Linked DNA regions of Homo sapiens: regions 2 and 3 are each linked to region 1. The links are contacts of gene promoters, found by promoter capture Hi-C in blood cells and fetal thymus (Javierre and others, 2016). All regions are on one chromosome and are shown on one strand. The core of a region is centred on a gene start or on the middle of the fragment in contact, and the rest is flanking DNA. Distances in the headings are between cores, read along the strand shown.

What was found. Contacts are between HindIII fragments. The CHiCAGO score rates a contact against its expected background, and 5 or more counts as called.
Region 2: a contact is called between a fragment that was not itself captured here and the fragment with the promoter of NDEL1 in region 1, in 9 of 17 cell types (naive CD8 T cells, monocytes, naive CD4 T cells and 6 more). The highest score is 8.7, in naive CD8 T cells.
Region 3: a fragment that was not itself captured here is called in contact with the fragment with the promoter of NDEL1 in region 1 in 3 of 17 cell types (total CD8 T cells, total B cells and naive B cells); the score reaches 6.5 in total CD8 T cells.

The regions. Positions count from the first base shown.
Region 1 is chr17:8,433,806-8,437,193 of GRCh38, forward strand. It overlaps NDEL1 (nudE neurodevelopment protein 1 like 1), which reads left to right and starts at 2,079. Exons shown (of 9, transcript NM_030808.5): 1 at 2,079-2,240. RefSeq lists silencers at 1,883-2,052, 2,153-2,352, 2,393-2,632. The HindIII fragment of the contact is 3,991 bases long and covers 1-3,297 here.
Region 2 is chr17:8,955,079-8,958,300 of GRCh38, forward strand. The region is part of intron 1 of PIK3R5 (phosphoinositide-3-kinase regulatory subunit 5); the gene reads right to left. Among named protein-coding and RNA genes, the nearest start is that of PIK3R5, 9.0 kb to the right of the region's middle. RefSeq lists enhancers at 1-105, 106-605. The HindIII fragment of the contact is 2,450 bases long and covers 268-2,717 here.
Region 3 is chr17:9,000,294-9,003,323 of GRCh38, forward strand. It overlaps a transcript of NTN1 not described here. Among named protein-coding and RNA genes, the nearest start is that of NTN1, 20 kb to the right of the region's middle. RefSeq lists silencers at 2,715-2,824, 2,855-2,904. The HindIII fragment of the contact is 4,981 bases long and covers 1-3,030 here.

The DNA of each region.
Region 1 (3,388 bases), core at 829-3,328:
ATGCTTGGCCCTGTGCAAAAAAAAAATTGGAAATCCATGCATAGTTTTTTCATAATATGCATATTATTCATAATATTATTCATAATAGGCATATGTAATATGTTACCTTTCCCACAAACCCCATTAATCCCTTCTCTGATCTTTATTGATTTGGGTACCTCTTACAATCCATCTTGCATTGTTCCTGTTTATGTCCATCGCCCTCAAAAATATAAACTGGGCCTCCTAGGCTCACTTTGTTTTCACCTTGAGGCATGTCTTACACATTATTTTTGTGTTCACACCCACAAATCCAATCCTAAAAGCACTGAAATTGGAAAGGATTACATTGCGTGCCGCATGGAGGCTGGTGCCTGTAATCCCAGGACTTTGTGGGGGGCTGAGGTGGGAAGATTGCCTGAAGTCAGGAGTTCTTTTTTGTTTTGTTTTGTTTGTTTTTAGACGGAGTCTCACTCTGTCGCCCAGGTTAGAGTGCAGTGGTGCTCACTGCAACCTCCGCCTCCCGGGTTCGAGCGATTCTCCTGCCTCAGCCTCCGGAGTAGCTAGGATTACAGGTGCCCACCATCATGCCTGGCTAATTTTTGTACTTTTAGTAGAGACAGGGTTTCACCATGTTGGCCAGGCTGGTCTCGAAGTCCTGGCCTCAGGTGATTTGCCCGCCTCGGCTTCCCAAAGTGCTGCAGCGCCTGGCCGAAGTCAGGAGTTCTTGACCAGCCTGGGCAACACAGTAGACCCCATCTCCTAAAGGAAAGGATTACCTTGTACATTATACAGCAAAAGTTCTTAAAATTGTTTTTAAAATGTATCTCTTCCTTTAAGTTTCCACTCCCTATGTAAGTTGCCTATCCCTCTTTCCCTCCTTTTTGGGCTAGTATCGTCTCCAGCTTGCTTCCAAGTCCGCTAGGGAATACACACGCGCGCACACACACATACACGTGTGTGTTTACGTACTAAAAATATATAAACATTAATAATGCAAGATGGGGCCGGGCGCTGTGTCTCACGCCTGTAATCCCAGCACTTTGGGAGGCCGAGGCGGGCGGATCACGAGGTCAGGAGTTCGAGACCAGCCTGGCCAACATGGTGAAACCCCGTCTCTACTAAAAATACAAAAATTAGTCGGGCGTGGTGGCAGGCGCCTGTAATCCCAGCTACTAGGGAGGCTGAGGCAGGAGAATTGCTTAAACCTGGGAGGCGGAGGTTGCAGTGAGCCGAGATCGCGCCACTGCACTCCAGCCTGGGCAACAAGAGCGAAACTCCGTCTCAAAAACAAACAAACAAACAAACAAACAAAAACCAAGATGGATTGTAAGAGGTATATATATACACATAGGACTCCATTTCTTGGGGGACCTGGAGGGGAGAAAGTCACACCCATACACACACGTACACGCATGTATACAAAAATGAATATATGCTCAGATATATACAATATATAAATGGGCAAATATAAAATCCCCTTTGTGCCAACGAATCCATTCATTCATTCATCAAATATTTGAGCGTCCACTTTGCCTAGAACCAAGTTATCTGTTGGGATGAGCAAGGCATAAGAGGTTCTAGCTCTCATAGAACTTAGAATTCTACTGGAGGAAGATGAGAACAAATACAAAATGTAAACAGTGGAAGTTCTGTAAAAACAACACAGAGCTTTGTGAGAGTGATGCTTAGAATGCTCCTGATGTTCCATTGGGTGTTCGAGCAGGGGGAATGGACTCGGAGGTGAACTATGAGCCGAGATTCATTTTATAAACGGGAACACAGACACATGGACACTTGAAGGGCCTTGGTGGCCAGAAAACTGAAGGCAGGTTCCCATCCGTCTTGGCACCACTCTCCCGAATAGCAGTTTCAGGGAACTGCACAAGCCAAAACCAGCCGGTCGCAGAGTCCAGGAGCGCCTGCGCAAGAGGACGCCTGCGCAAGAGGACGCCGTCAGCTTGGCGTCAGCGCGCCGGGCTCTGGCCCGCCCCCTGTGACACCAGCCCCGCCCCACCCCGCCCCGCATACCCGTGCGCTGCCGCGCATGCTCCGAGCCCCGCCCCCGTGCGTCACAGAATGGCCTCGGACACCCAGGCAGTCCCTGACGTGTCGGGGAGGAGCCGGGCGCGGAGGTACGCTGAGTGGAGCTCGGGGCTGCGTAGGGGAGCTGAGCCGAGCGGCTGGGCGGGCCTGGCCGGGCCGGCGGAGGGGAGACGTCGGTTGAGCGGCGGCGAACATGCGCTTTTGACACATTGGAGGTGAGCCTGCAGCGCGGGGCCGCTCCCTAAGGGGCTGCGCTGGGCCGGCGGCGCCGAGGCCTGCCCTTGGGGAGCCTTCCCGGCCCGGGGCCGTGTCTGAGGCTCCGCCGGGGCGGGCCGGGCCGGGTTCCGGGGCGGCCAGCCTGGGGGCAACTGTTCCAACCGCTCTAACTGTCCCCTCCCTTCCCTGGTCCGATGTGTGGCCCCCCAGGGGCGCCTGCAAGGGAACGATTCCGGTGGCCTCCGGAAGATGTGCCCCGTTCCGGGTAGGGTGAGGGCTGGCGGTGACGGAGGCCGGGACGTGGCACCGTGGGCTGGGGCGCTGGCGGCGCAAGGAGTGGCCCAGTCGGAGGTGGCAGCGGCGCGCCCAGCCCGCCTCCTCCTACCCCCTCTTCGAAATTCCTTCATTTGCGAGGGTGGCTTGGAGCGGGGTTGCATTTTGATCTCTCAGTGCCTCTCTCCCATGGGGGGCGAGAGCGCGAGCAGCCCACGTTGGGCTCGGATTGGCATTCTCCTGACTCCCGCCCGGAACTGCTAATCATCCTCCCCCTGGAGTTCGGCAAAGTGTCACCAACGGGCTCGGGTTACTTGTGCTCGACTCTTTTCTTGCTGTAAGCCATGAGATGACCCTTTAAGTTTTGCAAAGGAGGTGAGAGTTCTGTCACCACTGATTATTACCTTCTATTTACGTAGCACCTTTACACGTTTCAGAGCACTCTTCTTCCTATCTTTTTCTAACCGCATCACCTTGTGGTTGCAACTGATTATGTTATCGCCATTTCGATGGGTAAATGGAGCTGGGATGGGGGTAATTATTTATACTTAGGTTCAACCAACTGGTGAGTGGTTTAGCTTGGATCATAATTTACATTTCTAGGCTCGGAGTTCTGGTTTCTTTTCGTGGGATTTTTATACCCTTCTCAGCTACAAAACAAGGCAGAAAATGTGACTTGCCAAAGATATGCCAGAAGCTGGTAGATTACTTACTCAATTATTTTTGAGAAAACTCACCTAGGATAAAAACGGCTGCTCAGTCATGAGAAAAATCTTCCTGTGAAGCTTGTTCAGGAGTTGCTGGTTAATTGCTTTGCTAAATCGTGAAGTTGATGGGCACAGTGCAGCGTTAAGTCATGGGCTGAAGAGAAGTA
Region 2 (3,222 bases), core at 243-2,742, 520 kb after region 1:
CTGGTGTCTGAAGCCCTTGCAGTTGTGCACAGAAGACCAGTGATATGTCTGGAGGGTCCTTGAGGGGAGGATGACCGAACCCCACAGAGGTCTCAGATGGGGAGCAGCCCAGCCTGCCCGATCATCAGTCATCCAAGGCTGAGGCCCGGGCCTCTTCCATGCTGGCTGCTCGACCAGGCAATCACTCATTCAGCAAGCACTGATTGAATGACAAGTGCTGGCCCCTGCAAGGCACTGGAGAGTCAGCACTGAACAAAATGATTGGAAAGCTTCCCTCATTGGGAAGGGGATGAGTGAGGCAAGAACACACGTTAGGTCTTGGGAAAACTGAGTCAGGCAGTCTGGCTGGAGGAGAGCGTGATGATTCGTGGAGAAAGGAGTGGGACTCAACTTCGAAACCTGAACAGAAGACTAAGGACTCTGGACTCTCCCTAAGCAGTGGGGTGCCATCAAAGTATCTGAACACAGTGACATAGAAGTTTTCATAAGAAGAATCTCCTGGTGAAGAGAGGAAGAGCCTGTGGTCCAAAAGGCCCACCAGAGGCATATGGTAAATAAAGCCAAATTGGGTAGGAGAGAGAACAATGGGGAAGTGAGAGAAACAAGAGCCATGGAGAAAGGAAGCACCATCAAAACGGGCTGGGGAGTGGGGAACAAGGAAGATGGAGGGAGGACTCGGAGATGAGTCCAAGGTTTCAAGGCTGGGAGTCTGGTTTCAGCAGAGACAGAAATGGGGAAGTCTGCACAGGAAGCCTGCTTTGTGGATGCAGAGTTGGGCTCTGGATATTGCTCAAGTTGAAATAGGGCATCAAGTGAAAATAACCCGCATGTACTTGGAGGCCGAAGCAGGTAGATCACTTGAGCCCAGGAGTTTGAGAACAGCCTGGGCAACATAGTGAGACCCTGTCTCTACAAAAAACACACACAAAAAATTAGCTGGGCGTGGTGGCATACACCTGTAGTCCCAGCTACTCAGGAGACTGAGGCAGGAGGATCATCTGAGCCTGGGGAGGTTGACACTACAGTGATCTGTGATCGTGCCACTGTACTCCAGTCTGGGTGACAGAGTGAGACCCTTTCTCAAAAATAAAAAATAAAACAAAAATTTGTCGGGCATCAGACTTTATGGAGACTTCAAAAAAAAAAAAGATGCAGGTTGGGAAGAGACTATTGGAACTTGCCATTCCAGAGCCACCAGTGACCTGAAAGGAAGCCTTCCAGCAGAAGCATGGGCTAGAGGGTGGGTTTCTGCCATTGAGGTCTGAAGAGGGACTCATAGTCACTGGGAGTCCTGTCATAAGGTGGCACCATGAGGGAAGGAGCAGGTCCCCTCTCTGCTCAGCCCATCAGAGCAGCTCCCACAAGAAAACTCTTGGAGAGCAGGCTTTGAAAACTCCCAGGTGGTCAGAATCATAGAGTCCAGTTGGTCCAGGAGGAAACAGACTCAGCAAGATGAGGAAGTAATTAGGGGCCAGGACTAGAGATTACATCTCCTATTCCCATCCTGTAGCCCGTACATCACATCACAGCCCCCTGTGTTCTCTTAAGCACAATAACAGGCCAAGGAGAGCGCAGAGCTTTTCGTTTTCTCAAAATGAAACTCTCAACATGGTACAGAAGTGAATGCACAGTGCAAAGACCTATGAAACATTGACGTGAAAACCCCAAGAACAAGAGGACATCAATTCCCAGCTCAACCTGGAGGTGAGATAGGTTGGCCCCAAGATCTTATCTGGGACACTCACGGAGGAAGGCAATTTTGAAATGGTGTTCAATTAGTTTATTTTACCAAGTATCAGAAGGAGCCAAGAACAAGAGACCTCAAGAAAAGCCCATGCTCCCAGCAGAGGATGTGGGCGAGGATCCCAGTATCCATGAATGGCTATGGTTTTCTCACAGCCAAGGTGCTTCTGCTGCGGAGAACGGGCTGTGAAGCAGGGCTGTGGGGTTTCTGAGCAAACTGCCCAGCTTTGGGACCTGTTTATTCAAGGTCACTGAACTACTCAAACTCAAATCATGTTCTCAGAACAACCAGCGTTTACACAACCAGTCAGACATGGCCACCATGATTTAGAGAACTACAGGCTCTTTAAAAATAAGCTATATTGGTCTCCTTTCTCACGGCTATCATTTCCATAATATATAACATGTATTTTCCCTGCATACTTCCCCAACGGGAAACTAGCCACCACGAAGCCTCCCATTCCACTGTTGACCTGCTCTGAATTTCTCTGAGATCTTCCTTCTAGTGAGCTGGAGTCTATTTTCTTACAATTTTCCTTCTGTCATCCCTTTTCCATTCCAGAGAATGACACCCAGTTGAGAAGTCTTCACCTTTTTCAAAGGACACTGCTCGTCAAACATCTGAAGACAGATACTACTTCTCCTCTGTCTTCTCTTCTTGGAGAAAAACCTCGCTACTTCTTAATTACTTCATATTCTGTCATCGCTATCCTGGTCACCTATCTCTGGATATGAAGTGGTTGCTCAGCATCCTCCAAATGCAGCACCTGGAATTCACTCAAGGTGGATATGCCCAGTTCAGTGTGGAAATAGGCATGCTTGTTAGCTGAAGGGCATATAAAGTAAGGACCCATGGGACCTAGTGGCTGAACATTGGAAGCCAAGAATCAAAGATGGCTCTCGGGCATGAGCCTGGGAGCTCTGAGGTTTACAGATTTGTACCTGGGAGGACTGAGGAAGAGAGAAGAGAAGGAAGCTTGGGGAGTGGGAAGCCAAGAATCCCACAGTGGAAGACCTCAAGACTGGAGCCGTTCTCCCAGCTTCCAAGGAGCAGCTCATTCCCCGCTCTATAAGCTGTCACAGGGCGTGGGAGAAGGTAACGTGCTTCCAAAATCATTTGCAAAGTCAGTATATCAAAAACTGACAACGGCAGCACAGAAAAGGAAAATAGAGGTCAAATTCATTTCATGCAAAAATCCTAAAGAAAGGTGGGATGCGGTGGCTCACTCCTATAATCCCAGCACTTTGGGAGGCCAAGGCTGGTGGATCACTTGAGGCCAGGAGTTCGAGAGCAGCCTGGCCAACATGGTGAATCCCCGTCTCTACTAAAAATACAAAAATTAGCCAGGCGTGGTAGTGGGTGCCTGTAATCCCAGGTACTCAGGGGCTGAGGCATGAGAATTGTTTGAACCTGGCAGGTGGAGGTTCGCACCACTGCACTCCAGAGTGAGACTGTCTCAAAAAAAAAAAAAAAAATCC
Region 3 (3,030 bases), core at 215-2,714, 570 kb after region 1:
TCCAATGGCTGCACCAGTCTACATTCTTACCAACGAGGTATAAGGGTTCCAATTTCTCTATATCCTCGCCAACACTTGTTATTATCTGTCTTTTTTATTACAGCCATCCTAATCATTGTGAATTGGTTTTTCATTGTGGCAGGGCTGTTGCTTTTTAATCATAGGCAAATAAACACCCAGCCTATTGAAGCTGGATGGTACCACAACAACCATGTGGTCCAATTTGTTCATTTTATAGGAGAAGCAACGAACGTGTTAAGAGAATAAGAAACTATCTCAAGGTCACACTTAGTAAAGGAGGCAGTAACAGAACCTATAGATTTTTTTTTCTTTTAAGAAAGAAAGGAAATTAAAGCCAGATGGCATAAAAAGAGAGATAGAGAAAGAGAGTCTTCTATAAAACCTAGGAGAAATTTCTTTAACCATAAAACCAGAAGATGCTGGGTGCAGCAGCTCATGCCTGTAATCCCAACATTTTGGTAGGCTGAGGCAGGAGGACCACTTGAGTCCAGGAGTTTGAGACCGCCTGGGCAACAAAGAAAGAATCAAGGCTGGGTGCGGTGGCTCACACCTGTAATCCCAGCACTTTGGGAGGCTGAGGCGGGCGGATCATGAGGTCAGGAGATCGAGACCATCCTGGCTAACACGGTGAAACCCCATCTCTACTAAAAAAAAAAAAAAAAATACAAAAAATTAGCTGGGCATGGTGGCAGGCGCCTGTAGTCCCACCTACTTGGGAGGCTGAGGCCGAAGAATGGCGTGAATCCAGGAAGGGGAGCTTGCAGTGAGCCAAGATAGCGCCACTGCACTCTAGCCTGGGCAACAGAGCGAGACTCCATCAAAAAAGAAAAGAAAGAATCAAAAAGATTTTTTGATTCTACAAAAAAATTGAAAAATTAGCCAGGCATGACAGTGGTCCCAGCTACACAGGAGGCGACGGTTCTCTATTTATTCCTTCAGTCATTTTAATGGTTATTGGGGGAGGTGTGTCAGTGGACCATCTTGGACCAAGGTTTGGATCCCTTGGGCCCAAGAGTTCAAGGCTTCAGTGAACTGCGATCGCACCACTGAGCTCCAGCCTGGGGACAGAGCAAGGCCCTGTCAAAAAAAAAAAAAAAAAAAAAAAAGCACAAGACAGACAATGAATCAATAACTAATAAAGGATAGTCATAAATAGTTAGTCATGGATCCTCTACTACGTCTTAGGTGCAGAACACGGTAAGTGCTTTACATTTGCTTCCCTGTTTAATGCTAGCAACATGCCTATTTTAGAGAGTTGAAGTGTAAATAAAGGATTATGACCCTAGACTCTTATATCTAACTACTGTCTGTGTATAAAGTAACAGACAATCTGAGACATGCGAAGACTCAAAAAATCCACCGTCCATCCACCCTTCCCCCAAGGTTTACTCAAAGTAGCATTTCAGTGGTGTGAGAAATTAATCAAAGTAAGGAACTCAGGAATGAGGAAGTCATTTACGTAAATGAAATGACAATAAACAATGTAGGCAGAAAAACTGAGTTAGAAGGCTGGGTGCAGTGGCTTACACCTGTATTCCCAACACTTTGAGAGGCCAAGATGGAAGGATCACTTGAGGCCAGAAGTTCCAAACCAGCCTGGGCAACTCATTGAGACCTTGTCTCTACAAAATAAAAAGTGTTTTAAAAATTAGCCGGGCGTGGTGGCATGCACCTGTGGTTTCAGCTACTCGGGAGACTGAGATGGGAGGATCTCTTGAGCCTGGGAGGTCAAGGCTGCAGTGAGCCATGATCCCGCCACTGTACTGCACTCCAGCCAGGATGACTGAGCAGGGCCCGGCGCCCCCACCGCCCCCCGCCCCCACACACACCTGCGCCACCACCGCCCCCCACCCCCACACACACCCACTACCAAAAAAAAGAGAAAAACTGAGTTAATTATGAACGTAGTTTGAAATCACAATGCCAATGTCAAAAAATGATTCTTCAAAGAGCAAGCATATGATGTAAAATTTTAATAATGGCCTGAAGCTAGGATCCTAGTTTATGCCGGCAAACCTGTGTCCTCCAGCAGCCTTAAGCTCGGCAGAGATTCCCAGGCGCCGGCCTCGCGGGTGAACTGTCACACGTACCCAGAGCTTGGAGGAGGCGCGCCGGGGGAGTGTTGTGCTGGGGATTCCCAGGCCGGCTCCTGCTTCTCGCCTGATGAATGTGGAGTTCCTTCAGCCATCCCTCGGATCCTCTTAAACTTTTCTAAGTTTCAGGAGTGTGAATGACGCATTCCCCTAGTGTTAAGTGGCGACAGTTCTCCCTCTATTTTATCTCTTCAGTCATTTTAATGGTCATTGGGGGAGGCGTGTCAGCAGACCATCTTGGATGAAGGGCAAAAAGACCAGTTAGCATGGAATTGAGGTTTGTCGCTGGTGATGGCAGTGGGGACATGATCGCACGTCCTTGGGTCAGACTTCTCAGCTCTCTCCTCCCCATTTTTACCCCCAGCACTCGGTCAAACAAACAGACAAACAAAAAGACCCCTGCAACTCCCAGACAAACCAAAGCTAGAGTGTGTAGGTTGGGTGGCTTTCTGTTGGATAGTTGTGTGTCCCAAGTTACACGCATCCTATCTTGGCCCAGCTCCACTGGAGCCCGAGCGGCGGGGCGCAGGGTGCGAGCGGGAGGCTGGTGTTCTGCCCGCGATGGGCAGGGGAGCCGGGTGGCCGCGGGGCGAGGAGCCGCGAGGGCCGGGCCGGCGTGACACCACCTGGCGGAGTCTCGGGGAAGAGTCTTAAAGGCGCGCGCTCCTCCGTGCCCCGCGCACTCGAACGGGAGCCGCGGAGAGCTCGCCTCCCGCTGCCGCCGGCGCCTCGGGGAGGTAAGTGCCACCCGCGGATCCCGAGTCGCGGCCGGGTGGGGGCGGCCCGCGGCTGCCCCGCGCTCGGGAAGCTCTGGCTGGGGCTGCGGTCGGAGGGCGGCGCCCAAGTTTTCTTGAAGGCCTCGGAGGGCAGCTGGAGCGGCGTAGAGCCTGCGCGGGGATGGCGGGGGTGGCCGCGG